Regions from separate parts of the Homo sapiens genome. Here regions 2 and 3 are each linked to region 1. The links are contacts of gene promoters, found by promoter capture Hi-C in human tissues and cell types (Jung and others, 2019). All regions are on one chromosome and are shown on one strand. The core of a region is centred on a gene start or on the middle of the fragment in contact, and the rest is flanking DNA. Distances in the headings are between cores, read along the strand shown. Region 1 holds the start of NPBWR2 (neuropeptides B and W receptor 2). Region 2 holds the start of EEF1A2 (eukaryotic translation elongation factor 1 alpha 2). Region 3 overlaps SRMS (src-related kinase lacking C-terminal regulatory tyrosine and N-terminal myristylation sites).

Region 1 (4,300 bases), core at 923-3,422:
GCTGTCTGTAGGTCTGGTGGCCAGCGTGTGAGGGTCTGTGTCTCCTTGCGTGGAGAGGACAGCACTGGGATGTGAACAGGCCGGGCGTCCCCTGAAAGAGACAGCCGGAACTGGGTGGGGGTGGGCGTGATGATGGGGGTGATGGTGGGGGTGGTGGGGGGGGTGGGCGTGATGATGGGGGTGGGGGTGGGGGTGGGGGTGATGGTGGGCGTGATGGTGGGGGTGGGGGTGATGGGGGTGGGCGTGATGGTGGATGTGATGGGGGTGGGCATGATGATGGGCGTGATGATGGGGGTGGTGGTGGGGGTGATGGTGGGGGTGGTGGTGGGGGTGGGGGGGGGTGGGCCTGATGGGGGTGTGGGCATGATGATGATGGGCGTGATGATGATGGGGGGTGATGATGGGCATGATGATGGGGGTGATGGTGCCCAGGCCCTTCAGCACCGCAATATGCTGCGGAAGTTCTTCCGGAAGTTGTCATCTAGAAAGGCGTAGAGGAAGGGGTTCAGGCACGAGTTGGCGTAGCTGAGGCTGGTGATGACGTAGGACATACTGATGACCAGTGGGGTCTGGGGCAGGTCCGTGGTCAGGGCCACGACAGAGGCCAGGTGGAAGGGCGTCCAGCAGAGGAGGCACACGGCCAGCACGACGAGGACCAGGACGGTCACCTTCCGCCTGGCCTTGCCTAGAGCCTTGGCTCCAGAGCGGAGCCGCACGGCCCGCAGCCTGCGCAGGAGGTCTGTGTAGAGCACACAGATGGTGCACACGGGCAGCACGAAGCCCAGGACCAACGTGTAGACACGGCTGGCCTTGAACCAGACCTGCTCGGGCCACGGGAAGCTCAGCCCACAGCTTGGGACCTGCAGCTCGTTGCTGTAGACGCCAGCGAAAGAGAAGAAGGGCAGAACCAGGACCGTGACGCCCAGCCAGACACACAGGCTGGCGACCTTCGCCCCCCGGTAGGTGCGCCAGGGCATGTGGCGGGACCTCACGGTGGCCAGCACCACCAGGTATCGGTCCACGCTCATCACGGCTAGGAAGTAGATGCTGGAGAAGATGTTGTAGTGGTCGACGGCCAGCACCAGCTTGCAGAGCAGCTCCCCGAAGGGCCAGTACTGCAGCAGGTGCTCCGCGATGTTGACGGGCAGTACCAGCGTGAAGAGCCCGTCGGCGACGGCCAGGTTCAGGATGAACACGTTGGTCACCGTCTTCATCTTGGGCGCCCTTAGGATTACAAGGATGACGGCCGTGTTGCCAGTCAGCCCCACAGCACAGATCCCGGAGTACACGGCGGGCAGGAGCACATAGAGGAACGGCAGTGGCTCGGAGAAGGTGGCATTGTGGCCAGTGCCATTGTCCTGAGAGACGTTGGCACCCATCGTGGGGAGGGAGAAGGAGCCCCTGCTGTCAAGGGGCTCTGGGTGCCCAGCGGCCTGCATTGTAGCTGGGACCGTTGACGATTTGCGCCCTGGGCAGGTGGGAGGTGCCTTGGAGTTGGGTATCTGGTTGGGGGCCTCCTTGGGCTGGATTCTAGGAAAGAAAAACAACCAGAGACTTTGAGATCCGGCCGTCTGTTAGGGCACAGCCACTCCAGGTTCTCTGGCAGAGACTGCGGCCACTTTGCCAGGTCAAGGACATGGGGCCAGAGGGAGCCTGGTGGGGTGTGTGGGGGCCTCCTCCCGCCTCTTCCTGGTGAGACTTCAGCAGATCAGTTCCCTCCTCCCGCAGAGAGCAGCTGCTGGCCACCCTCCTGGGAAGAGATGTGGATCCGTCCCTGCCCCAGCAACCCGCAGATGCACGGGCTGCGTAGAATCAAGCGGTCCCTTTGGAAACACACCTCCCAAGCTCATCTCTGGCTCCCTTGAATCTGAAGGTCCTTCCCTCAGGGGTCTTGGAGTCTGCACCCTCCCTCACACCCTCCCGAGAGATGCTGCAGACCCTGCTGGTCCAGCTACTCTTCTCTCCACTGACCTGTCCAGTGCTTCGAGTCCAGAAGTTGGTAGCCTTGGTGTGTTCCTGGTTTTGGCCAGTACAGGCAGTCGCAGGGATGGAGGGCGAGGTGTGGTCCTCACTGACAGACCTCCAGCTGAGGTTTCAGGAGTTTCAAGACCTGCCCTGCTGGCTGCCTCAGCCCCGGCTGCGAGGTTCCCAGCCTGGTGTCAGTGCTGATGCTGGTGAGGGAGGGAGGCGGATCCCCCTTGCTGACGTGGAGCCCGGAAGGCAGGCCCCACCTTCCCCTGAGCTGCAGTAGCGCCTGCAGTCGGCTGTCCCAGGGTCTCCTCAGCATTCACTTACCCAGGCAGACTCCTCAGTGGGCGGCTGAGGCACGTGTGCGCCTGTGTGTCAGGAAGGGACTCCATGCAGGGGCCTCTGGGTGTGCCCAGGTCTTCGGGCAGAGGGCACTGAAGGCATCTGTGCCTCTGTCCGGGAGTCACTGTGGGCCTGGGCACCCTTATCTGTGAACATGGGTGTCTTGGTGGGTCTCCTGCCCCACCCTGTGTGTGTACATGGTGTGTTCCTGTGTGTGTGTGCCAGTTAGGACATGTACGTGTGTGGGCCTGTGTCTGCCTGTATGGGGGTCTCTGTGGGTGAGCTCTGCGTTGTATCTGAGTGGGTCTACATGTCCTTGGCTGAGTGTGGGCATCTGGGGGGTCTGTATGCCCTCATGTGGAAGCAGAACTTGTTGGCCATAGGCAACCCACCTTCTTTTTTTGTCTTTTGCTAAAAGAGGAACTCAGCCTAGGCAAGCTGTGAAAGGCTGCAGAGAAGACGTTCTCACGCTGACACGTAACTCTCCCGCCGTCCTGCAGAGGTGGTGAGCATCACACTCTGCTCTGGGTTGGTCTTTAAGTCCTTCCCTTCTCCCTGCTTTTCTTCCTTGCTGGACGCACCCTGGCTTATCCAACCCGTGTGTGTGCAGCTCGGCCGCATCTGGACCTGCTTTGCAGGCAACGCCACAGCTGACACGAGCAGTCGCCAGTCTCAGAGCCGCTCCTCAGCGGAGACGTGTTGGGTCAGAGGGTCTGTGTTTTCTTTCCTTTCTTCTTTTTTGAGACAGGGTCTTGCCCTGTCACCCAGGCTGGGGTGCAGTGGCACTATCATGGCTCACTGCAGCCCTGACCTCCCTGGGCTCAGGTGATCCTCCCACCTCAGCCTCTCAAGTAGCTGGGACTACAGGCATGTGCCACCATGCCTGGCTAATTTTTGTGTTTTTTTTTGTAGAGACGGGGTTTCACCATGTTGCCCAGGCTGGTCTCGATCTCCTGAGCTTCAGCCTCTACCTCAGCCTCCCAAAGTGCTCAGGTTATAGCCATGACCCACCGTGCCTGGTCACTGTGTGTTTTCAGTCTGGGGAGATGTGTCTGCCCATCGAGACTGTGCCCGCTGCCTGTGGGGTTGCAAGGATGTCACCGCACACTCATGGTCGGCCTTCTTTCCTGAGAGTTGCTCTGTCAAGTCTATTGGTTAGGACAGGAGCCTGGGCAGTCGCCCTGAGTACCCTGATGTCGCCAGCCTGAGGGTACACTGTGGGTGGGCCCCGAGCTACCCTTCTATGGGCTGTGCCATGTGGATGTTGAGTCCGGGGTCAGGGAACCCTGCTGAGATATCTCACACTCCTCTTCAGCCAGTTTGGGGATGGCGGTGGGGGGGATCTGTGGGTGTGTCTCGAGGGAGCGTGGGGCTTGTAGCCACAGTTTGTCACATAAGTGGAGCTTGACGCCCACAAGGTCAGGGGATGGTGATTAGCAGCCGTGAGGAGAGGGTGCATTGGGGCTGAATTTTGTGATTTGGGGTGTTCGTGGGGTCGGGAGGGGTCAGTTCACAGCTCCTGGAAACCAGAGGCGTGACACAGAGAGGCCAGGCCTGGCATGTGGTGGCCCAGGCATTGACCAGGGTGTGGGCTGGGCCAGGCGGTCACTGGTCTTGGCTGGGGAGCGGCCGACCATGGCCTCAGCACCGGGCACTGGGAGAATGTCCCAGGCCTGCTGTCACCGAGCTGCTGTCCTGGGGTGGGGCTGGCCACGCTGGCCTGATTCTGGGCCTCCCTGGGGGCCTGCTGTCACCGAGCTGCTGTCCTGGGGTGGGGCTGGCCACACTGCCTGACTCTGGGCCTCCCTGGGGGCATTGCTGGGGGCCTCTCCCTTCCATGCATTTTGGGAGGGGCCCAGGCTAGTGCCGGTGCCTTCCTCTGCCCCCCAGGGCTGGCTGGCAGCCTGCCCAGTGACCCCCGTGTGGCCTGAGCTCTGGGCACCCCTGCTGGTCTTTGCCCTGCAGGATACCGACTGCCACCCACACCTTC
Region 2 (4,300 bases), core at 1,250-3,749, 610 kb before region 1:
GCTCTGCCGGACACGGGAAGCTGGGGGGCCTCGGCCAGTGAGACCCCCACAGAAGGGGACGGGCTTCAGTCAGGGCAGCAGCGGCGGTCACTACCCAGCTGGGCAGAACTCCTCGCCAGGGCCTCGCACAGACAGGACTCTGCCCTCCAGGAGGCTGCCCAGTCTGGAGCAGACCCAGATGGGACCCAGCTGGGGCCTGAAACAGCGGCCCTCTGAAACCCCCGCCTCCTCCTGACAAGGCCAGGTAAAGGGTGATGCAGCCCAAACTCAGGGGTGCAGCTCAGAGCACCCCCAACCCCGCCAGGGCAGAGGCTCAGCCCAGGACAGCGAGTGCCCCCACCTTGGGCCCTGGCCTCCGCCCTCATCATCCAGGTGAGAGCTCCCACAGGCCCTCCCAGGAGTGGGCTTCTCCCCAGAGTCCTGGGTGGGGGATGGGGATCAGAGAGCAGACCCCGTCTCATGACCGCTCCCCACCACCGTCTCAGCCACCAAAGAGAAATCGCTTCAAAAGGTCAGCTAGGAGGTCACCTCATCCAGGACCCCCACCCCAGGGCTGCCCTGGACAGCAGCCCTCCACAGCCCAGCACAAGAAAATGGAGCAGACGGGCCGGCTGCCCATCAATCAGCTATTAATAGTAGCGTGTGCCCTGGCAGGGCCCTAGGACAAGTGAGGGCAGTACCATCTCCAGCCCCAGCCTTGGCCCTGGGGGGAAGGGGGTAAGGCTCCAGCGCCCTCCAGCCCCAGCTCAACATGGCAGAGTTCCAGAGCCTTCTGCAGACCCTCCCAGGTCACCTCCCTCACCACAGGGCAAGTCCGGCAGCTCGATGGCCACCCCTCCCCCACCAAGCTCCCCCTAAGAGAGAGGCTGCCCCACCAGACCCTCTGAGGCCTGAGTGCCCCACAGCGGGGGTCCCTCCTGCCCTGGAGGAGGTCACCTGAGCCCCATGCCCTGGGGCTGGGAGATGCCAAGCCTGGCCACCACGGGAGTTGGGGGTTCCTTCTCAGGGGGCCAAGACCATAGCCTGGGGAGCTCACCTCAGCCGCCTCCTTCTCGAACTTCTCAATGGTCCTTTTGTCAATACCTCCGCATTTGTAGATGAGGTGGCCCGTGGTGGTGGACTTTCCGGAGTCCACGTGGCCGATGACCACGATGTTGATGTGGGTCTTCTCCTTGCCCATTTTGCTGGGAGTGTGAGGGGCTGGCGGGACCCGGGGTGCTCTGGCTCAGGGCGAGGGGGGCTGCAGTGATTCTGTGGGGCCAGTGGTGGTGGGGAGACCGGTGATGGGGAGCCCCAGGGGGAGACACCAGCAGAGACTGTCCTGGCACAGGCTGGACAGGCATCCCTGCCCACAAACCAAGCCCCCATGTTTGGTGGGGAGGGAAGGGCCCCCACCCACAGCTGGGCCTGGCCAGGGCAAGCAGAGGCTGTGCACTGCCCCCACCCCACACTTGAGCCCAAACAGCCCCATCTGCTGTAAATAACTGGGCGTTGGAGCCCGCGGGCTGCTCCTTGGGAAGGGGTTAGCCACCATTTGGAGAGACCACGCAGCGCCAGGCTGGGTACGTCCGTGACCAGCAGAGCCGGGTGATGAGTCACCTGCCCAGCGCTCCAGGGCCCTGTCCTGCACGCGCACTCCCCTCCCCGGCGGCAGGGCCAGGGACACGGCGCCCCACCCCCACCCGCTGCCACCGGGGAGAGATGGCCACTGCTCCCCACTCCCCTCCTCAGGCAGGGACGGCGCCATCTTCCCCTCATCCCTGCCCGGCAGGCTGGGCCAGAGCCCCGACGGAGATGCGCTGCCCAGATTAGGAACCCAGAATAGCTCTAGGCACCCCCCTCCCGGACTCTCACAGGGACAGACAGCGGCCGGGAGGTGGGGGTCCCTGTTCCAGCCTGAGGAAGGAGGACCCGGCCCTGCCGAGCCCAGCAAGTGCCAGGTGGAGATGCCCTCGGCCCCGTGGGGGTATAGGGGGCACCCTCCCTCCCCCCCTCCCTGTGACTCAGGACCCTGGGTCACAGCCCTGTCCCATCACAGAGGTCAGTGGAGAAACCCACGCTGCTCCTCGCGGACAGGTGGCTGGGGGAGGGAAAGAGGACAGAAGCCACCCTGGGGTGGGAACACGGGTGGGGGTGGGGAGGCCAGGGCCCCCAGATCTCACCACCTCCCTCAGCGTCCTCTGGCCCAGCGCCCCGAAGCCCGACCCCCATCAGCCCCCGGCCCGCAGGGTCCCCGCGGCCCCAAGGTCACGGCTACGGGGCGATCGCCGCCCAGGACCCGGCCCCGCCGCCCCGCGCCGCCCCCCACCCCGGGCCCAGCCCGGCCGACGCGGGGACCCCCGGAAGCCGGACTCCGGGCGCGCGCGGGGGCGGGTGCGGGGCCCGGCCACCCTCTGCCCCCCAGGACCGGCCCCGGGGGTCCCTCTTCGGAAGACGGGGGCGGGGGCGGAGGCCCGGGGGCCGAGCGTCCTTACCCGGAGCCGAGGTCTCAGCCAGAGGGACTGGCGGCGCCGGCGCCGGCGGTTTTATCTCCGGGAGGGGGTCCACCTATTGACGGTGGCGGCGCAGTGCACCGCGCCCTGCAGCACGCCAATGCGGAACCGCGCGGGAGGGGGCGGGGCGCGGACGCGCGCGGGCGGGCGCCACGGGGACGCGAGGCGATGCGGGAGGCGCGGGCTGCAAAGACGGACGCGGGAGGCGGGGGAGAAACGCGCCGCGGGCGGGGGCGGGGCGGGGGGCAGGGCAGGGAGGCGGCGGGAGGGAGGGACCGGGACGGAGACGGCGCGGGGAGAGCGCGGCGGGCCCGGGAGACGGGGCGAGAGCCGGCTCAGGGCAGGAACACGCTTGAGCCGCGAAAAGCGGTCCCCGGGGACAGGGCAGACGCCGAGGACCGGAGCCGGCAGGCGGGGGAGGGGAGCAGGTGGGCTGCAGCCTGGGAGACGAGCCTGGGTCTACCGGCCCCTCCCCGGCCCTGCTCATGGGGGACGCCCCAGAACCAACGAAGCCCGGCTCTGAGGGGCTCTCCCTAATGAGGCCCGGGGGTGCAGGCCTCAGGGTGGAAATCTGCTGGTTTCCAGTCCCTGTCCTCACGTGCCTGCCCTCCTGGGCGCACCATGACAGGCCCCGAGGATCCAGCGCAGAACCACCCTCCCCCTGAGAGGCTGGTCTCCCACGGTGCAGGGAACGCCGGAAGCCCGCTCCCAGACCCACTGACATCTTCCAGGGACCCTCCCCTCCGGGTGCGCCGACCTCCGGCTGCTGCTGGGAAACAGCGCCAGCCAAGGGCGAGTCAGATCCAGACAGACCCAGGCCCCCCCGCCCAGCGCCCCACCCCGCTGCACCTCAGCGCCTTGTAGCTGATGCTCATATGGGGTCAGGATGCCAAGCCAAAGACCGGGCCACGCTCTGTAGGAAGTGGGGAGTCCCTGAGGTCCTGGCACACGCGGGTAATGACCAACGTGGGTTGTGAGGAAGGGGATGTGGCAGCCATGTGTTGTGTGAAGACCAAGGTTAGGGGCTTTCTCCAGACCCCAAGATCCTGTCGTCTCACCCAGGTATTCAGGTCTTCCCTCCCACGCTGCCCCCCCACCCCCACGCACTCGGATCTTCCTGCCAGCGGGGTCTCGGGAGGTGTGTGCTGAGTGGGGGCAGAGCCCTGGCACCTGTCCTCTCAGCCCTGAGTTCCCACTGGGTGTTGACATGGAGGCCCCGGGTCGGGCCCAGCAGCTGCGACTGGGCAAATCCATGGGGATCCCCAGCGACTGGACCCCTACCTGGCCTGCTGGCAGGTGTGAGGAGGAAGGAAAGGTGGGGGCCCAGGGTCGGGGCCAAACAGTTCTCCCCAGCCTGTGGAGAGGGCCTCTCAGGAGGACCCTGGTCTGTGGCTGCGTCTGCCCCATAGGAGTCCAGGGACTTGGGCTCCTGGGCCACAGGCAGGAGAGGAGGCAGGGAGGGCCTGCTAGGTGCCCCGGCACTTCCGAGTGCTGCCGATGCCGTCAAACAGGAGCCAGGAATAAAAATAACCGCCTGGCAAGAAAGCAAGGCCCGCCCCACCCCACCCAGCTGGTCTCTATATTTAACGCCTCCCCTGCAGCCTGAAGGTTAGGCAGGGATTTGGAAGTGGGCTTGCTGCAGGTGCTCGAGTGGCCCAGGCCGGGGTCCCGGGGATGCCCACCCCACTCCCCCAAGGGATCACCAGGACTCTGGGCTACCTTTTCCAGACACCCCTTCCCCCTCGGCTCCCGGCTCACCCATAGCAGTGCCAGGGGCTCACATGTGCCGTGGGGCCTTGCCACCCACA
Region 3 (4,300 bases), core at 654-3,153, 560 kb before region 1:
GCGTGCAGCTTCTCCCGCAGCGTGGCGAAGGAGGGCCGTTCCTCGGGGCTGCTCCTCCAGCACTCCAGCATGAGCACGTAGACCTCCGCCGGGCAGGCAGCCGGGCGCGGCAGCCGGTACCCTCGCATGATCTGCTGCAGCGTCTCGTGGTTGGTCATCCCTGGGAGGCGCGGGGCAAGAGCTGCCTCGATTCTGCCTGGGGGTCCCTATGGAGGAGGCCTCCTGTAGCCCCCCATGTCATCTGCCTGCCCTTGGCCAGACCCTCCAACCCCTTGCCGACAGCGTCCAGGCCCGGGGCCAGTGACTCCTGGGCAGAGCCTGCATCCTCCCTCTGGCTGCCTGGGGACCCACCTTCATAGGGACACTGGCCATAGGTGAAAACCTCGTGCAGCAGGACGCCGAAGGACCAGACGTCTGACTTCTGGGAGAAGACACGATAATTGGCCGCCTCAGGCGCTGTCCACTTGACCGGGATCTTGGAGCTGCTGCTCGGGGAGTAGATGTCGTCCTGGGGGCGAGGGAAGGCCCCTGGTAGGGCAGGTGGACCGGGGTCCCCTCACCCACCCCCTCTGGGTCAGGGGCCCAGAGCCTCCGCTGACCTTGAGCAGCCGGGCCAGGCCGAAGTCAGCCACCTTGCAGGCCAGGCCGTCGTCCACGAGCACGTTCCGGGCGGCCAAGTCCCGGTGCACAACGCGCTGCTCCTCCAGGTAGCTCATGCCCTCAGCCACCTGGCAGGCAAAGCCCAGGAGTGGCGGCAGACGCAGGGCCCGGCCCTCGGGGGCTGCAGGAGACAGCGCGGGGTCTTTTAGGGCACGGGGCCAACGGCCGGTGAGGCCAGCGTCCACCCACGTCACCTTCCCCCATGCCTCAGCCTCCTCATCTCTAAGACGTGGCGAGGATGGCATGGCCGGCTAAGGCCACGGGAAGCCCCAAGTGAGACAGGGCGAGGGTCCTGTACTCACCACAGTGACCCGGCAGCCGGCCCAGGCCCCCGACAAAGACCAGGGCAGAGAAGAGCCAGAGGCTGGGCTGGGTCTATGTCACATTAGACCAAGGCTGGTGACCCAGATGGGACCGCGCCCCCCACCGCCCCCGAACACCAGCTCCAGCCCCGGAGCCACAAGGCTCTGGCCTGGCCCAGACCTGACGCCAGCCCCCTGTTGGCTGGAGACCAGACAGGGATGGGATCTGCAGCCGGGGCCACCTGCTCCCGGTAGAGAGGCCCGGTTCACCTCGGAAACCCCGCAGGTTCAGCTCTGCGCCAGGAGGGAAGGGGCGGTCGCAGGCGCGTCAGGGCCACGTGGCAGCAGGGAGGGGACTCACTGCCCAGGAAGGCCTGCAGGTTCCCCTTGCGCATGAGTTCCGTGACGATGTACACAGGCTCCCCGCCCGAGCACACTGCGTGCAGCCGGATGAGCCGCTCGTGCCGCAGGCCCTTCAGTGTCTGGATCTCCTTGGCGAGGTCAGTGAGCTTCATGTTGGCTGCGAGAGAGGGTGTGGCTCCAGGACCGGCCCACGCCACGAACATCACTGCCCTGGGGCTTGAGGGTTGGACAGCAGGTGCGGGGCCCGGCCGTGGCGCAGGATCTCGGGGCCTCACCTGACTTGATGACCTTGATCGCCACGGGCAGGGAGCCCAGCCACAGGCCTTCCCACACCTCCCCAAAGTAGCCTTCACCCAGCTTCCTCCCAAGGGCGAATTCGGAGTGTGGCCGCTCCCACACGTCCTGCCTCGGGGCCTTCTGCAGGGAGGGTGGGCAGGGAGGCTGGTCAGCGTGGGCCCCTGTGCTCTGTCCCAGGCACAGCCCCCCACACCAGGCCTCTGGCGGGCACCCCTGTCCCCAGCACACACTCACCCCACCCTGGCTGGGACAAAGGGGAGTGGGTGCCAGGCTTGGAGGCCCGGCCCAGCCCCGTGGGAGCTCATTGCTCTGGGGGCCTAAGTGGCACCTTTGCCCCAGCCGGATATCCGTCTACACATGCTCATTACTGCCCCTGGCCGCGCTGTCATTATGAGACCAGAGAAACCAGACTGCTGCCCTGGCCCTCGGCAGGGTGGCTCACATCGGGGACAGTCCCCGGGATCCAGTGTCTCCAGCCCAGGTGCAGCATCTTGTGATCTGCCTCTCCTCCCACACCTTCCGCCCTTGGGGCCTGGGGCAGCCTTGAGTGCCTTCCCCAAACTGGCCCCACCCTCCTGGCTGCTCCCCTGCAGAGCTGGGCACTGCTACAGGTCTCCTTTCCCCACTCCCAGCCCCCTAGGACCCCAGGAATCCCAACAACCCTCAGAGGCACCCGCAGAGAGCAGAATGTGCTGGAACCGCTGGGATGCTCCGATGCTCCCAGGCCTGGGCAGGGCCCTGGAGCTGCGCCTCTGACAGCCCCAGGGGTTTTGTGACGGGGTGGGGAGGAGCACCTAGAACAGGGCCATGCCTCGGGCCCAGCATGGGGCAGCTTGGCAGGCACAGGCCCACCTGGGGCATGCAGGGCTGCAGCAGGGGGTTCTGGATCAGCTTCCAGTTGGCCTTGTAGTAGGTGAGCAGCTCCTCCAGGCCGGGAAAGAGCCGTCCCTTCTGCAGGTAGAGGCTGCCATCAGCTGCCATGGAGACCCGGTAGTGGCAGACCTTGGCCTGGGCCCGGACTAGGAAGGGTTCAGAGATGGAGACCCCTGCCTTGGCTGCCAGCTGCCCCGACCCTCCCACCCCAGAGGATGCTGGCCACAACCCACTAAGGGGTCTGGCTCAGACCTAGCTGGGGACCCTGAGATGGTCAGAGCTGTGTGGAGGAGGGAGTGTGGGCAGCCACAGGCTGGGGCGGGGCAGCGAGAGCGGCCCAGGTTGGAGCTTTTCTGCTGACGGTGTGCACAGAGTAGGCACTTAATAAATACTTGTAGAATGAATGAGTCCATGAGTCAGTGAATGAATGAAGGAATAAGGAAGGAAAGAAGGAAAAGTGAATGAATGAATGAACGAATAAGCAAATGAGTGAAAGAATAAGCTAGTGAACAAATCAGTGAATAAATGAGTGAATTAGTGAGTGACGAATGAACGAGTGAATGAGTGGATGAATGGATGAATGAATGAGTGAATTAGTGAGTGAGGAATGAACGAGTGAATGAGATGAATGGATGAATGAATGAATGAGTGAATTAGTGAGGAATGAATGAACAAGTGAATGAGTGACTGAATGAATGAGTGGGTGAATGACTGAATGAATGAATAAATGGGTGAGTTAGCAAGTGCAGGAGGTGACCAGCATATCTGCTGTTGGGCCCTCAGTGGCGCCGGGTGTGAATCAGGAGCCAGCACTGCCTAGAGACCAACCACCCCAAGGTCAAGGGCCACTGACCTGGTGGGGGACAGAGGCAGGAGGGGCCGCCCCAGGTACCTGACAGTGAGTAGCCCCCGAGGCTGCTCTCGCTGGGCCGGATGAGGAAGGCCCCTGGTTCGTTGGGTGGGGAGAGGAGCAGCTGCTGTGCCTGGGTCCGACTGACCCCGCTAAAGTACCAGCTGCAAACAGCAGGTGCGGCAGTCACCTTGCAGGCCCCTCAGCCAGTGGCCCCACATGCTCTCCTCCGTGTTGCCGGCAGGGCTGAGCCCGGCTGTCCCACCGCCTCAGGGAGAAGGTCCACCCCGTGGACTTTGAGTCCCAGCTCAAGGTCTGCACTGCCTCAGCCCCCAGTGCCGGCCTCATCCTCCTGCTCAGCCCTGAGCATCCTCACGTTGGCCGTGGGCTCTCCGTTAGCCCTGCTGGGCGTGACCTCCAGTTCCCTGTTCATAGTGACCGCCAGCCCCAGCCACAGGTTAACAGTCAGCCCTGGCCATGGGCCATAGGCCTCCAAACTCGGCTTCGCTGAGCCCCTGCACAGACATGGAGCTGACGGCCTGGTGAGCTGCCCGGAAGCACTGCTGGGCTGTCGTGGCTGTACAGGGCCATGGGCATCACCTGGCTGGGCACGGCCCACCTGCCTCAGGCAGTTGGTTAGTGGAGGGGGCCCATGCAAGCTGTGTCCTGAGGAGGCAGCCTAAGCCAGGCTGTGCAGGAGGTCAGGAGGGGCAGCCAGTGGGCGGCTGCAGGGGGGTTGCTGTGCGAACGTTCAAAGCATCCTGCATCCCATGCTGGAGAGTTGTGCCCAGTACAGGACGGCCCTAAGCCCACTGGCGTCTGTTCGCACAGACACCCCCTCGGAAAAGCCAGGTGCAGGTGAGACCTCTCTGAACACGGTGGCAGGGTGGCAGGGAGCTCCCAGGTGCCCACTCCTCAGATGCCCACACACGAGGAGCCCACACCGGGTGTCGGG

What was found. Contacts are between HindIII fragments. The study calls those that stand out against the background at their distance.
Region 2: a contact is called between the fragment with the promoter of EEF1A2 here and the fragment with the promoter of NPBWR2 in region 1, in 4 of the 25 tissues and cell types used here (IMR-90 fibroblasts, aorta, lymphoblastoid cells and 1 more).
Region 3: a contact is called between a fragment that was not itself captured here and the fragment with the promoter of NPBWR2 in region 1, in 1 of the 25 tissues and cell types used here (lymphoblastoid cells).

Annotation. Positions count from the first base shown.
Region 1 is chr20:64,105,393-64,109,692 of GRCh38, forward strand. It overlaps NPBWR2 (neuropeptides B and W receptor 2), which reads right to left and starts at 2,173. Exons shown (of 2, transcript NM_005286.4): 1 at 1,972-2,173; 2 at 1-1,530. The coding sequence starts at 1,439. The coding sequence ends at 438. RefSeq lists an enhancer at 1,721-2,221 and a silencer at 4,205-4,300. The HindIII fragment of the contact is 24,186 bases long and covers 1-4,300 here.
Region 2 is chr20:63,496,584-63,500,883 of GRCh38, forward strand. EEF1A2 (eukaryotic translation elongation factor 1 alpha 2) reads right to left here and starts at 2,500. Exons shown (of 8, transcript NM_001958.5): 1 at 2,475-2,500; 2 at 1,037-1,251. The coding sequence starts at 1,180. LOC124904955 (a long non-coding RNA gene) reads left to right here and starts at 1,699. Exons shown (of 2, transcript XR_007067719.1): 1 at 1,699-2,040. RefSeq lists enhancers at 714-883, 1,509-2,304, 2,565-3,134. The HindIII fragment of the contact is 29,943 bases long and covers 1-4,300 here.
Region 3 is chr20:63,540,840-63,545,139 of GRCh38, forward strand. It overlaps SRMS (src-related kinase lacking C-terminal regulatory tyrosine and N-terminal myristylation sites), which reads right to left. Exons shown (of 8, transcript NM_080823.4): 2 at 3,388-3,509; 3 at 2,475-2,641; 4 at 1,601-1,742; 5 at 1,324-1,482; 6 at 600-781; 7 at 352-508; 8 at 1-160. Among named protein-coding and RNA genes, the nearest start is that of SRMS, 4.8 kb to the right of the region's middle. RefSeq lists a silencer at 1,810-1,869 and enhancers at 2,160-2,309, 3,257-3,810. The HindIII fragment of the contact is 9,150 bases long and covers 1-4,300 here.